Linked DNA regions of Homo sapiens: all the other regions are linked to region 4. The links are contacts of gene promoters, found by promoter capture Hi-C in human tissues and cell types (Jung and others, 2019). All regions are on one chromosome and are shown on one strand. Each heading gives the region's core, a stretch centred on a gene start or on the middle of the fragment in contact. The rest is flanking DNA. Distances are from core to core; before and after follow the strand shown.

The links. The method cuts DNA at HindIII sites, captures the fragments that hold promoters and counts their contacts. A contact is called where the count stands out against the background at its distance.
Region 1: a fragment that was not itself captured here is called in contact with the fragment with the promoter of PTPRM in region 4 in 3 of the 25 tissues and cell types used here (heart left ventricle, lymphoblastoid cells and spleen).
Region 2: a fragment that was not itself captured here is called in contact with the fragment with the promoter of PTPRM in region 4 in 4 of the 25 tissues and cell types used here (dorsolateral prefrontal cortex, heart left ventricle, mesenchymal stem cells and 1 more).
Region 3: a fragment that was not itself captured here is called in contact with the fragment with the promoter of PTPRM in region 4 in 1 of the 25 tissues and cell types used here (H1 embryonic stem cells).

The regions. Positions count from the first base shown.
Region 1 is chr18:7,853,142-7,856,177 of GRCh38, forward strand. All of the region lies in intron 2 of PTPRM (protein tyrosine phosphatase receptor type M), which reads left to right. Among named protein-coding and RNA genes, the nearest start is that of PTPRM, 290 kb to the left of the region's middle. The HindIII fragment of the contact is 4,096 bases long and covers 1-3,036 here.
Region 2 is chr18:7,824,093-7,827,022 of GRCh38, forward strand. The region is part of intron 2 of PTPRM (protein tyrosine phosphatase receptor type M); the gene reads left to right. Among named protein-coding and RNA genes, the nearest start is that of PTPRM, 260 kb to the left of the region's middle. The HindIII fragment of the contact is 4,051 bases long and covers 1-2,930 here.
Region 3 is chr18:7,244,205-7,247,189 of GRCh38, forward strand. No RefSeq gene overlaps it. Among named protein-coding and RNA genes, the nearest start is that of LRRC30, 15 kb to the left of the region's middle. The HindIII fragment of the contact is 6,137 bases long and covers 1-2,985 here.
Region 4 is chr18:7,566,041-7,569,130 of GRCh38, forward strand. It overlaps PTPRM (protein tyrosine phosphatase receptor type M), which reads left to right and starts at 1,276. Exons shown (of 33, transcript NM_001105244.2): 1 at 1,276-1,851. The coding sequence starts at 1,779. RefSeq lists a silencer at 957-1,326. The HindIII fragment of the contact is 7,623 bases long and covers 1-3,090 here.

The DNA.
Region 1 (3,036 bases), core at 417-2,916, 290 kb after region 4:
GAAAGAACAGATAATGTTCTAATGTTCTGTATGGACATTGGAAAAATATTGATACTGATTCCTTCTTTTTGCAGATTTCAAATTCAGACCATGTCATTTCTTTCCACAATCCCTTTCAAAGGAGGTTGGTGTTTTCTGTTATCCTTATGTGAGTTACTTAGTTGAGGAAGTGTAAATGTAGGGCTCAGCTTGAAGTAGGAGAGAAGAGACTTGGTCTCCCTTTTGCAGGTGGAGTTGGTGCTAGGTGTCCTCCCTTGGGAGCTTCAGGTAAAGTCTGGAATGGGTAGTAAGGCTGTTTGTTTCTCTGCTGTTAGCAGAAGTCTTACCCCAGAGTACAGTGGCTTCAGAAGTACCTGGAAAAATGAAAGCATACCAGGAAGAGTAAGAATCTCACCTTGCCTTGTTCTTTGGTATTTCACTCATGCATCAAAAATGTGAGCATCAGGAAAATTGCACTGGATTTCTGAATCTTCTCTTCTTCTCAAACAGTTATTTGTTGGCTATTAAGAGCATCTCCATTGATTAGAAGTGGTAGAGACATACTTGTGCCTTTGGAAAGGGGGAATAGAATGTGAACACAACCTATTCTTGAAAGAGCTTGAAATAATATTCTATACCAAGCTGATTCTCTTTGGAACTGCTGTTGTCCACCAAGATAAACAGCTTCAATCAGGGAGCAGTTTTTTCTAATCAGGTTTACAGCTTTGAACTTCAATGAAAACTGATTTTCTAAATTGTTAGTCAGTGGAATTATATTTTCAGTCTGGTTGTCTTTTCATTCAAAGAAGCTGAGCTAATGAGAGCAGGTGTTGGAGAGAAAATGAGCCATAAAATTCTCTGTATCTGTTGGACCTAGACTGCTGAATTGAGAGTTGCAGAATTGGCCATTTGTTAGAATGCATTTCAGGATTTCCCCCTGAAGTTTCACAAAACAGAAAATTTAAACAGCAATATTAGTTTTTATGTACCATAAGAGAATGAAGGAAAATAATTCCTTCAGCTAAAGGAAATGATGGACATAGTTGCTTTTGAAGAAGTGGTTGTCTACCATTTTCCAGTAATTGTCTTTCTTCTATCATGTTACCTCTGATTCTTATTGCTGAAATGTAGAAGAAATAAGAGCCTACAAGGGAAAGAGTTCTCTGAACTTGGAATTCTGACCTCATACTTCTTACCTCTCTTAGCTAAAGCAGAAATAATGAGGATCTAGTATATTACCCCTTTACACTTCTGCAAAGGTTCTTAACTTATGTAAGAATCAAGTCAATTTTCTATGTAAAATCTTGACAGGGATTGTCAGAAAAATTTAGTGTGGAATGAAATGGAGCCTAATTTCATTTTACTTGAAACTCCATTACAGATGGAAAGTTTGTAGTATAAGATACTGGCAGGTACTTGAAAATGCAGGTAGCAGAACAGAAATTCTTTGGCTTGCTCCCTAACCTTAAAATACTATTTAAAGATGGATCTTGTATCTGAAAGTGCACACACAAGATTGTTAGCAGTTGATCACCTCTGAGGCATGAAATTAAAGGGTTGAGAGAGTGGAAGACTTAATTTTTACTTTTTAAACTTTTGAAATGTTAGGAGTTTTTTTTTTTTTTTTTTACAACTGATATATGTTTTTAAAAATGGATTTTTAATGACCTAGAAGTTTTCTGTGTAAATGCATTGTTATATAAAGGGTATGGAAGAGAAGCTTCACTGCTTATTGCTTCATCCAGCCGACCTAGACTTTTGATCTTTGACAGATTTGTTTCCAAGCAAATAATTATAAATAAGTTATCATTTTACTGCATATCCTTGAAGGTTAGGTAGCATCTCCTACCCTCAGAAATGAGAATGCCAAGCAACCGCCCCAGGCAGATAAACATTTTATATTTAAAGGCTTCCAGGGGAGAATTTACCGCTCTATTTACTATGAGGATATTCTTGAATATATCTATTTTGAGTGACTCATGCTATAATGTAGGTGTTTTCTTCTCCTTCTCCCCTGGTGGAGGAGAACAGCTGCTTGCTAACCTTCTGTGTACCTACACTCTTACATTGTTATTATTAGAATGCTGTGCAGGGGGGTATCCACTTAAAGCTGGGTGTGACTGAGAAGTATTCCAGACATTATGTGACATACTGGCATGTAGTGATTAAGGAGACATGGTCTCACATAAAGACACCAGCATGGGCCTGTGGCTCAGGGGGCCTTGTGGCTTGGGAAGTGCCTCATTCCCATCTCCACTTAGCACTCCTCTATCTGATGGGATTGTTCCCCACCACAAAGCTGCTTTTGGCTCCTTCTCTTTGTGACTTCCATGGAACATGCCACCTACACAAAGAAGGAAGAAGAAAGAAGGCTGTGGTACCATCCTATTTGCAAAGACTCAGAAACTGACCTTCCTTTGAATTCCATTTCCACCCTCTACTAAATCTTAATTCTTCATTTGTTAAATGGAACTAATAGCACTGAACTCACCTTGCAGTTTGTGAGAACTAAGTAAGCTTTTTGTCAGTACAAGGAGTGTGGATGAGCTTCTTGGTAACTAAGCTCCCAAAAGACTTAGATGAAATGAAATTCCAGTTTATTATTTGGCAATGGAAAAATAGAGCCCTCCATCTGAGAAGACACTGTTTCCTCTGGCTAGCACATGAACTACATGGAGAGACATTTGTGTATCTTTGTGAACACAGATTCAGAGTAAGGAGAATTAATGGCATAATTCAGATGTTTGACGTTGTCAGGAATGTGGCTGAAAATAGTATCCCACAGCAAGTAGGTCACAGTAGAAAAAGCAGAAGGTGCCTGGGAATCAAACAGTCATCTGGGACAAGTTGCTTTTTCTCAGCTTCTGGAAAATGGGTATGATAACACTTGCTCATCAGCTTGGTTTAATTATGAGATAATTCAATGTGAAAAAGGCCCAACAAGGACTAGACTTTTTCATCTCCTTCCTATAAAACATTGAGCCATATCTGATTTGTAATTAGTGAAGTTAATGATCCAGCATTCTAGATTCCCTTCTATTTTCCATGGGAATGGAA
Region 2 (2,930 bases), core at 107-2,606, 260 kb after region 4:
TTTCACTGTCATCTCACAGACAAATCCCTGGTCTTCATCCGGGCCTCATTGTGGTCTCCCTTTCTAGTACCCCGAAGGTCAGAGCACCATTGTTCTTGCCTGAGCATTACCTGGACTCTGTTATGAGTTAGTCCCACTTTCCTGTGCTGCATTTGGGACATCACTGTTCAGAGAAAGCCTCTAGAGGAAGTAGGATCTCCCACTGTTCTGCGGGTGACATCAGTCAGGAGAGTGCGCACCAGTCATGGTGGGGACACATGAAACAACTCCGTGGGGTCTCAGGTGCACCAGGCAGCCCAAGAGCAGGTGGACGTGGTGATGTGGTTGGATTTTCCTGTGTGTGTGTGTGTGTGTTTTTTCCTCAGTAGCATTTTCTTTATTTGTAAGAAGAGATCTTTTAGCATTTTATAAAATTACTTTTATTGCTCGTTTTTTCCCCTTGTAACTTGAAGGGTTTCCTTCTCTCTTCTTTTTCTATTTACTTATTTTTCCTATTAGTAACTACTAGACTATTTCTATCAGCAAGGTACATTTTTAATATAGTTGTATTTTCTATTTTCCTGTCCAGTTACTAAGATTAAAAGCTTTGCTTTGCCCTTAATAATGGAACAAAACACCATCCAAACTGTGGTTAAAACATGGTTTTCTTCTGGGATGTGGTAAAACGAGAAAGCCCTCATCATCCCAGCATGCTTTGCCTAAGCTGACTTACAACAGAATTGTGCCCTGGATGTCAGTGCATGAACTCTGGCCCCAGGGAGGCTCTCTGGGCAGGCAGCGCTACTCAACATGGTGTCAGCTGCTTGCTGGGGCTCCCAGGATGCATGGAACCTCTATTGTATTTTCCAGACTTAAGCTTCTCTTCATGGATTTACACCAAATGCTTAAACATGTCTGTCTGTTTTTAAGATTTGGAGATATTGGTTTTCTCTTAGTTCAACTAGCATCAAGGCTTGCTGCGTTTCATGTGCAGGGCCATCAGTGCTACTGGGACCAGCATTTCTGTCCAGCAATTAAAGGAGGAAATTCCCTAGGAAGAAGTGGCCGGGAGCCAGGAGGCTGAACTAAATAGCATTCCAAATTAGTTGCAATTGTCCGAAAGAGGAAATTGCTAAGGCCCTGGTTCCCAAACTGTGGGCCAAGGCTCCCTGGAGTACTGGAACAACTACACCATGTTGTAAGTGTTCACGTTTTCAAGGGAAACACAGCTAGGTACCATGCAGAGGACTACTATGAGATTGCTTAGACTTCGCTATTTAATAAATGGAATGGATAGGTTGATTTTGCATAGGAGTACCATGAAAAAAATCACTGAAAGGTAAGAGCACTATGAACTGAGAAAGTTTGGCAACTTCTGCTCTAACGGTATAATGAAGGTTTTTGAAAAGCTGAGGATATAGCCAGGTGTTTGTGAGGGATGGAGGATAGGTATATAAAAGGATGTGAGGGAGGAGAAGACACAGGTTTGGAAGGTGGATAATTGGGCCAAAATGACTCTTAATTTACAAGGAATAGAGGTTGGCTGATCCCTGTGATGCCATGGGCTGGCAGCTCATTATGTTATCCCTGACATACAAGCCCCGAGGCTCCCATCCCCTAGAAGTAAGCACCACCCTAAGCCCCTCAGACCAAGCGTTTGCCTCTGTTTTTACCTTGGCATTTATTCATTCATGAAATATATTTTCAGTATCACCTGCATGCTAGGAGCTAGGGAGATGGTAGTAAGCAGAACAGATGGAAATTCCTGACGTCTTGAAGCTTATGTTTTTCTAGAATAATATCGAATGGGACATAGTTGGTGTTTCCTGTGTGCCTGGCATTGTTCTAGAAGCTTTCCATATATTAACTCATTTAATCCTCACCATATTTATTCCATAAGGATAGATAGGATTGCCATTTACATGTGTCTGGTGTTAACAGTGGCTCTCAGAGCACCTTGTTGCTTGTCCTCATTGGATGGCATCCCCGTCAACCTGATATTGGTCGAGAGCTCAGGTACAATAGCAGCGTTCAGAACCTCTCTGTGTCACTGAGTGAGGCTCTGTTAGGTGGTGTGAGCCTGCTCTGTGTTACCTCGCAGAAAGCTACACGCTGCATATTGACTAAGAAAACTTCTGTCCTAGCACATCTTCATCTCCATATGTGAGATTTATATTTCATAAAACTTATATATGATGAAGTATTTAAATTCAACAGAAGCTACATTCACAAAATGGTAAGCCTTGCTTTGGGAATGTCCCCTATTAACATGCCTTTCTAGGGCTTGCTCTTCCCGTACAGCAAGCTGAGTAGTACTGGCACTGCCACTCAAACAAGTTTCTGATCATAATGAAGAATGGCTGACTTATTAGTTGTGCTATCCTGGGATGTCAAGCATTGTTAAATTTGAAAATGTGAACTGGACATAGAAAAGTGGTTTATTTCATTTATCGTGTAGCTCAGTTGTTTCCTTGAAAAGCAGAAAGAAATTAAAGATGTTGAATATTTCATGGTTATAACAAATGAAACTCCCATGAAATAAAAGAGTTCACACTGTTACTTTATTTTCCAATAATGAAAGTACCATTTGTTCATCATGGAAAATACCGAAATTTATCAAACAAAATAAAAGTAACTCCCATCATATTATCCAAAGAAAACAACTTTTTGTTGTGTTTCCTTTTACCCTTTTTCTGGGCATAGATAAGCTTCCATTTTTTTAAATTAAAAACTTACTGTGGGCTAGATGCAGCGGCTCATGCCTGTAATCCCAGCACTTTGGGAGGCCCAGACAGGCAGATTGGTTGAGGCCAGGAGTTAGAGGCTAGCCTGGACAACATGGTTATATCCCGTCTCTACAGAAATTAAAAAAATAAATAAATAAGCCAGCTGTGGTGATATTCACCTATAATCCCAGGTACTTGGGAGGCTGAGGTGGGAGGATTGCTTGG
Region 3 (2,985 bases), core at 2-2,501, 320 kb before region 4:
TATTTGCTGTTCTACTCACGTACCACTGCAGTTTAAAAACTACCTACAAACTTGCCAACAATTTACTTTTAAAACTACACTTTGGGAAAACAAGAGGCAAAAAGGAAGAGAAGGAAGACTCTTAAAATAATACATTTGAGAATATATGTGAAATATTTGGAAGGATGTGATTCACTAATTCTCCTGGGTGCATAACATTGCATAAAGCTACATATATGGGGCTTGGTTAAGGCCATTTCTAAGCTAAAATTTTATAATTCTGCAGATAGGAAGTACCATTGTAAGCAAAAATGTATTCTTCTATATCTCACATAATTCAAAATTGTCATAGTTCATCACTATTCTAGAAAACAATGATGGGTGTTTCTGTTTACTAGTTAAAATGACACAGCCATAAGAAAGTAGCATAAACACAATTCAGAATTCACAGGGTTTATCGGCTTTGAAACTATAATTTTTAATATTTTTAAACTTAGAGGATTGACATTATTCTGAATTTTTTGCAAAATCAAGACTTAGTTAATATCACACTACTTGAAGTCTTTAAAACTCAAAATTTTATATAACGTAATGATACTGTATAATGCAGAGAAGTGTTAGTTTGATACCAAAGGAAATAAAAAATTGTACATTGGGGCTGGGCGTAGTGGCTCATTCCTGTAATCTCAGCACTTTGGGAGGCCGAGGATGGCGGATAATGAGGTCAGGAGTTCGAGACCATCCTGGCTAACATGGTGAAACCCTGTCTCTACTAAAAATACAAAAATTAGCCGGGCGTGGTGGTGCACGTCTGTAGTCCCAGCTACTTGGGAGGCTGAGGCAGGAGAATTGCTTGAACCTGGGAGGCGGAGGTTGCAGTGAGCCAAGATCACGCCACTGCACTTCAGCCTGTGTGACAGAGCAAGACTATCTCAAAAAAAAAAAAAAATTGCACATTGTGCACAATTCCATAGGTCAAAGGATGGCCAAACATTTATATTTCTTTCTTCTCTTAATATTACCAGGCTAATACCCATACAATAGTTGCAGACTCTAGACCTAGAACAAACAAATCTTAAAATTTGTCTTTTTTGTCATACATATCTTTTTAAAACATTTGTGCTCACTTTCAGAAACAAGAGGCTCACCTGGTGCCAATAACCAGCCCATTGATTTCTTCTTCTTTCTCCCTCAAACATGATCCTTCTCCCTTGTTCTCCATCTCAGTGAAAAGCACTTACATCTAGCCTGAACCCTGAGACTCATTCCAGCCATCTGCCTCACTCAATCTGCTCAGCTTACCTATCACCCAATCCTGAGGCTTTACCCCCAAAATCCTCTTCTCCGTCTCTTCTGCTGCTCCTTGGCCAAGCCACTACCATGCCTCCTCAATCTGGTCTCCCTACTTTCTTCCCTGGGCCTCCCTTTTAAATCTATCCCCCACACAGGAGCTGAGAGGTATTTAAAAATGCACATTGGATCATGTTCCACCAGTGCTTAAAGACTTTTAATATGTGCTTGCAATACAAGAAAAATCCTTACATTTGATCTACCAGCCCTTGCAGACCCTGGCTCCATCCAACTACTTCTTCATTTGCTGCACAACATTTTGTTCTCTCAGGAATGTACACACACACTGGCCTTCTAGCTCCTGAAGCCATGGGCCACTGGCCTAGCTCAGGACCTTCAAACACACGGTTCCCTCTCCATGCAATGATCTGCCTGGCCAAAGCCCACTCACCCTTCAGGTTTTAGCTGAAATAGACCTTCTCAGAAAACCTTTTACTTTTCCTTCATAGTACTTAACCACAATTGAAATGACACATATATGTGTGTCTATATGTATGTGTGTACCATCAAATGTAATTGAATTCATTATATAAATGTGTGTACAAACACACACACAGATAGATGTGTACCTTGTGTAATGTGTATCTCTCATGACAACAGGCAACATACCTACCCTATCTCACTGCTGCATTACCCAGCATATAACCTTCCTAGCATACATTAGGCACTTAATACATTCTATTGAATATATTCATATCTAATTATTAAGAATCATTAATTTCTAATTTGTTCCTTAGTTGAAATTCATTTTATCAATCGAATGCCAGGTGTGTACACCTGATTAAGGAGTGCCTTTAGTGCAAAGTTATGTTACATTAAAAAGTACTGTACTGAGAACCAAAGAATAAACATATGAAGCACTCATCACCTAACTTTAACACTAAGGGTGCATGCATAATTAAACCTCCAGTCATGAGTTCAATAAATAAGTGATTAGCTTGAGGACAGCACGGCCACCATTGGCAGTATCATCTCATTACTGTTTGGTAGAGGACATCATCATCTAGCCGCAGTTTAGCTACATGTATGTCTGAGTTAGTGGTTTGTGGAAGAAATAATAACAATAATGATTAAATAATGACAATTATGTAAGTATAAGTAATAGTTGTTGAGTACTTACCATGAGTCAGGTCCATTTAAATCTTACTAGATCTCCATTACATACTCTTTTTTTTTTTTGAGACTGAGTCTTGCTCTGTCGCCCAGGCTGGAGTGCAGTAGCATGATCTTGGCTCACTGCAAGCTCCGCCTCCCGGGTTCATGCCATTCTCCTGCCTCAGCCTCCGGAGTAGCTGGGACTACAGGCACCTGCCACCACGCCTGGCAATTTTTTTTTTTTGTATTTTTAGTAGAAATGGGGTTTCACCATGTTAGCCAGGATGGTCTCAATCTCCTGACTTCATGATTGGCCCACCTCAGCCTCCCAAAGTGCTGGGATTATAGGCATGAGCCACCGAGCCCAGCGTACATAGTTATTCTTACAGGTTGGTCATCCCTAATCCAAAAATCTGAAATCTGAAATCCTCCAAAACTGGAAATACTTTGCTTACCAACATGACGCCATAAACGGAAAATTCCACACCTGACCTCATGTGATGAGTTGCAGACAAAATGCAGTCAAAACTTTGTTTCTTGCATGAAGTTATTAAGAATATT
Region 4 (3,090 bases), core at 26-2,525:
AGGGTCAAGATGAGTGTGGAATCCATTTATTTTTTTACGTGTTTATAAGCACTAGAAAGCAGTGAGCACTAAGCAGAGGACCCCTCTTGCGGAAAAAGTGCAGGAGAGCTCCTGGGTGCCTCTGTATCACCGGTTTGCCTTCTAGCCAGAATCATTGCTAGAACCCTGTCACTCAGTTACTTTGGTTCCTAATTTAACCTCTTCCCAAGCCTTCTATTGCGTTCAGTTAGCTAGGCCAGGAGCTTACAGCTGTCTGGTTGGTGCTGGCTCAATGTGCTTATTCCCTGGAAGATAGAAGGATCACTTACAAAAAAATTTACAATTAAAATAAAAAAATTATTTTTTGCTGAAGCATTGTAAGGTTTTTTTAATTCACTCAGACCCAAAATCGTAAAACTAAAATATTTCAAGACATTACTTGATTCACCCCCCACTTCTCTTTCTCCCCTGTTTCTCAGCACTTTGCACCAGATACAGAAACCACGGGTTATGTCCAAACCCTGGTTTTGGTGTGACCACCGCCTTCCGTGTACTGCCTGCGGCTCGCTTCGGGCCCACACGGGACACCGAGGCATGATGAGGACGCAGAACAGCAGAAGCGCGCCCTGCTTCCCGGGCGCCAGTGCTCGGGGCCAGCGGCGTGTACCCGGCGGGCCCGGCCGGGAGCGGGCTGGCGATCGCGGGGCTCGGCGCTCCCGGCTCCCGCGCCATCTCCCGGCGCCCGCCAACTTCGCTCCGCCCGCGGCGTAGAGAAGCTCGCAGCCCTCCGGAGCCTCAGCGATCTCCTGGCTCGCTTTTCCCGCAGCCGCCGAGCAGCGCAGGCCCGGCGACTCCGGGTGCAGCTGGCCCTGTGCGGTGACATCGCCGTCCGGCGCCAGGCTCGAAGCCGCCTGGCCGCGCCCGCGGGGTCGCAGGCCGCTGGTCCCGCCCGGCCGCGCTCACAAACTACTCGCGGCTCGTGACCCGGGACAAACTTCTGGCGGCGGCGCAGCCTCTTCCACAGTCACCCTCCCCAGAGCCAGCTACCAAAATAGAAGACGCGGCCGGGGCGAGGAGGTGGGCGGGGGGAGCCCGGTGGCCGCTCCTCCCCGCGCGGCTGACGCCCGCTTCGGCGGCGGTAGTGGCTGTGGCCGCGGGGCCGCCCCCAGCCGAGCTCCCGGAGGCGCTCGGGCGCGGGCCGGCGGGGCACGGGCGCTCACGCCCTCTAGCGGGCCGCGGCGGCGCCGGGCGGCCGTGACGTGAGCGCTCCCTTCAGCCGGCCTGCGGGGCACCGCCAGTCAGTCGGGGAGCAAGAGCCCCGCGCGCAGCCGGCGCGGGCTCGGTCATCGGCGCGCCGCCGCCCGGGGCTGGGCTTGGGGCTGCCTGTGGAGAGGCGGCGGGCGGAACGCGCGCGGCCACGGCCACGGCCACCGCCACGGCCACGGCCGGCAGCTCGGGTCCCGGGTCCCGGGCAGGGGAAGGGGAGAGGCGGCGAGCTCAGCAACCGGAACCGAGGGAAGATTTTGGCTCCGCGGGCTCGCCCTCCGCTCCCTCTGCCAGCGGCGCCAGACGCCGAGTGGGGCCAGGGACAGGGGAGGAGGACCCAGGACCCTGTGCCCGCGCCCCTGGAGCCGCTGGAGTTCGGACTTCTGCAACTGTTGGCACTTTGGGGGCTTGGCTTAGCGCTCTGCTGTTTACCCGTCTCTCCTCGCTGCCTCGGAACCAAAGCTCCCGGCCCCCTCCGCCCTCGCGCGCCCACCCACCGCCGCCGGGGAGCGGCCCGGCCCGCACTCAGCACCATGAGGGGACTTGGGACTTGCCTGGCGACTTTGGCCGGACTTTTGCTAACTGCGGCGGGCGAGACGTTCTCAGGTAAGCGGGACCGCCTCTGCCGCCCCCGAGGCGCGCGGGCCGGCGCGGGACGCCCGGGACGCCGACAGCTCCCTGGTGGTAGAGCCCTAAGGCTGGCGTCGGGGCCGGGCGGGGGGCGCGGCGGGCCGGACACCGCTTCTGCCTGTGAGCCGGGCGCTGGGCGAGGGGCCGTGGGGCTGGCAGGCACCCAGTCCTCGGGCGGGCGGAGCGGACGGACCCCGAGGGCGAGCTCCCCAGCCGGGACTGCCAGCTCGGCCGCCGTCCTTCCGCGGCCTGGGCTAGTGCTCAAGGTTGGGCGGCTTGCACTCTTGAGTCCCTGGCCGGCTGCAAAAGGAACAGCAGAAAACTTTGCTTGAAGTTCCCAGTTGCAGCCGCCGGGCCGCCTGGCGTAGGCGCTGCGCGGTCCCCGCCGACCCCGAGCAGCGGCCGGGCCCAGGCCGCTGGTGTTCGGCTGCGCCCGCAGCGATCGCCGGGAACTGGCGGCCGCTCCGGCGGCGGCGATCTCCCGGTGCCCTGCCCTCCCTGTCGCCCCCTGCCCGGCGCGGCTGGCGACCCCGGGAGGTCCCCGCGGTCGTGCAGCGTCTGCGGAGAGGCTGGGGGGAGTTCCTCGCCGGTCCCAGCGGTAGGGCTTGGCGGCCGCGGAGGGAAGCGGGCAGGTCCCCAGGCCCTGGCCACGGCCCTGCGCCCCGCTGGGCTCCCCCTCCCCACCCTCGTCCCCCTAGCGGAGCGCCGCGGCCAGCTGCAACTTGTTCATCCAGCCCGGCTGCCCGGGGGTCCCAGGTGGGAAGGAGAGGCACTGGCGGTGTGCGAGCAAGCGTGTGAGTGTGTGCGCGTGTGTGCCTGCACGCGCGCGCGGGGGCGTTCTAAGCCCAGAGGAACCCCTCACGGAGAGGATCTGTGGATCGGAGTCGGGGGTCCGGCGTGGGGGCGAACCCGGCACGCTGTCACAGGGGTTTACAACCAGGATGACCTTTATTACCTGGGTGACACAGGTGGATAGACGGCAAATGCTGGCCCATTTGCACACCTTCTTTCTAGTGTTTATTAGATTAGTTTCATTAAGGTCCACATGCAGTGGGGGCGGTGGGCTTTCTTTTTCTTTAATAAAAAAGCCTGCTCTTTGGTCTTAAACTTGGTTTTTGCAAAATAGGTCTCTGCGTTTGGGAACAAGTGAGTTGAATGAGTAAGTTGGGCTTTTTAAGAATTTAATGAAGAGGACTTTCATAAACAGTAAAGAGC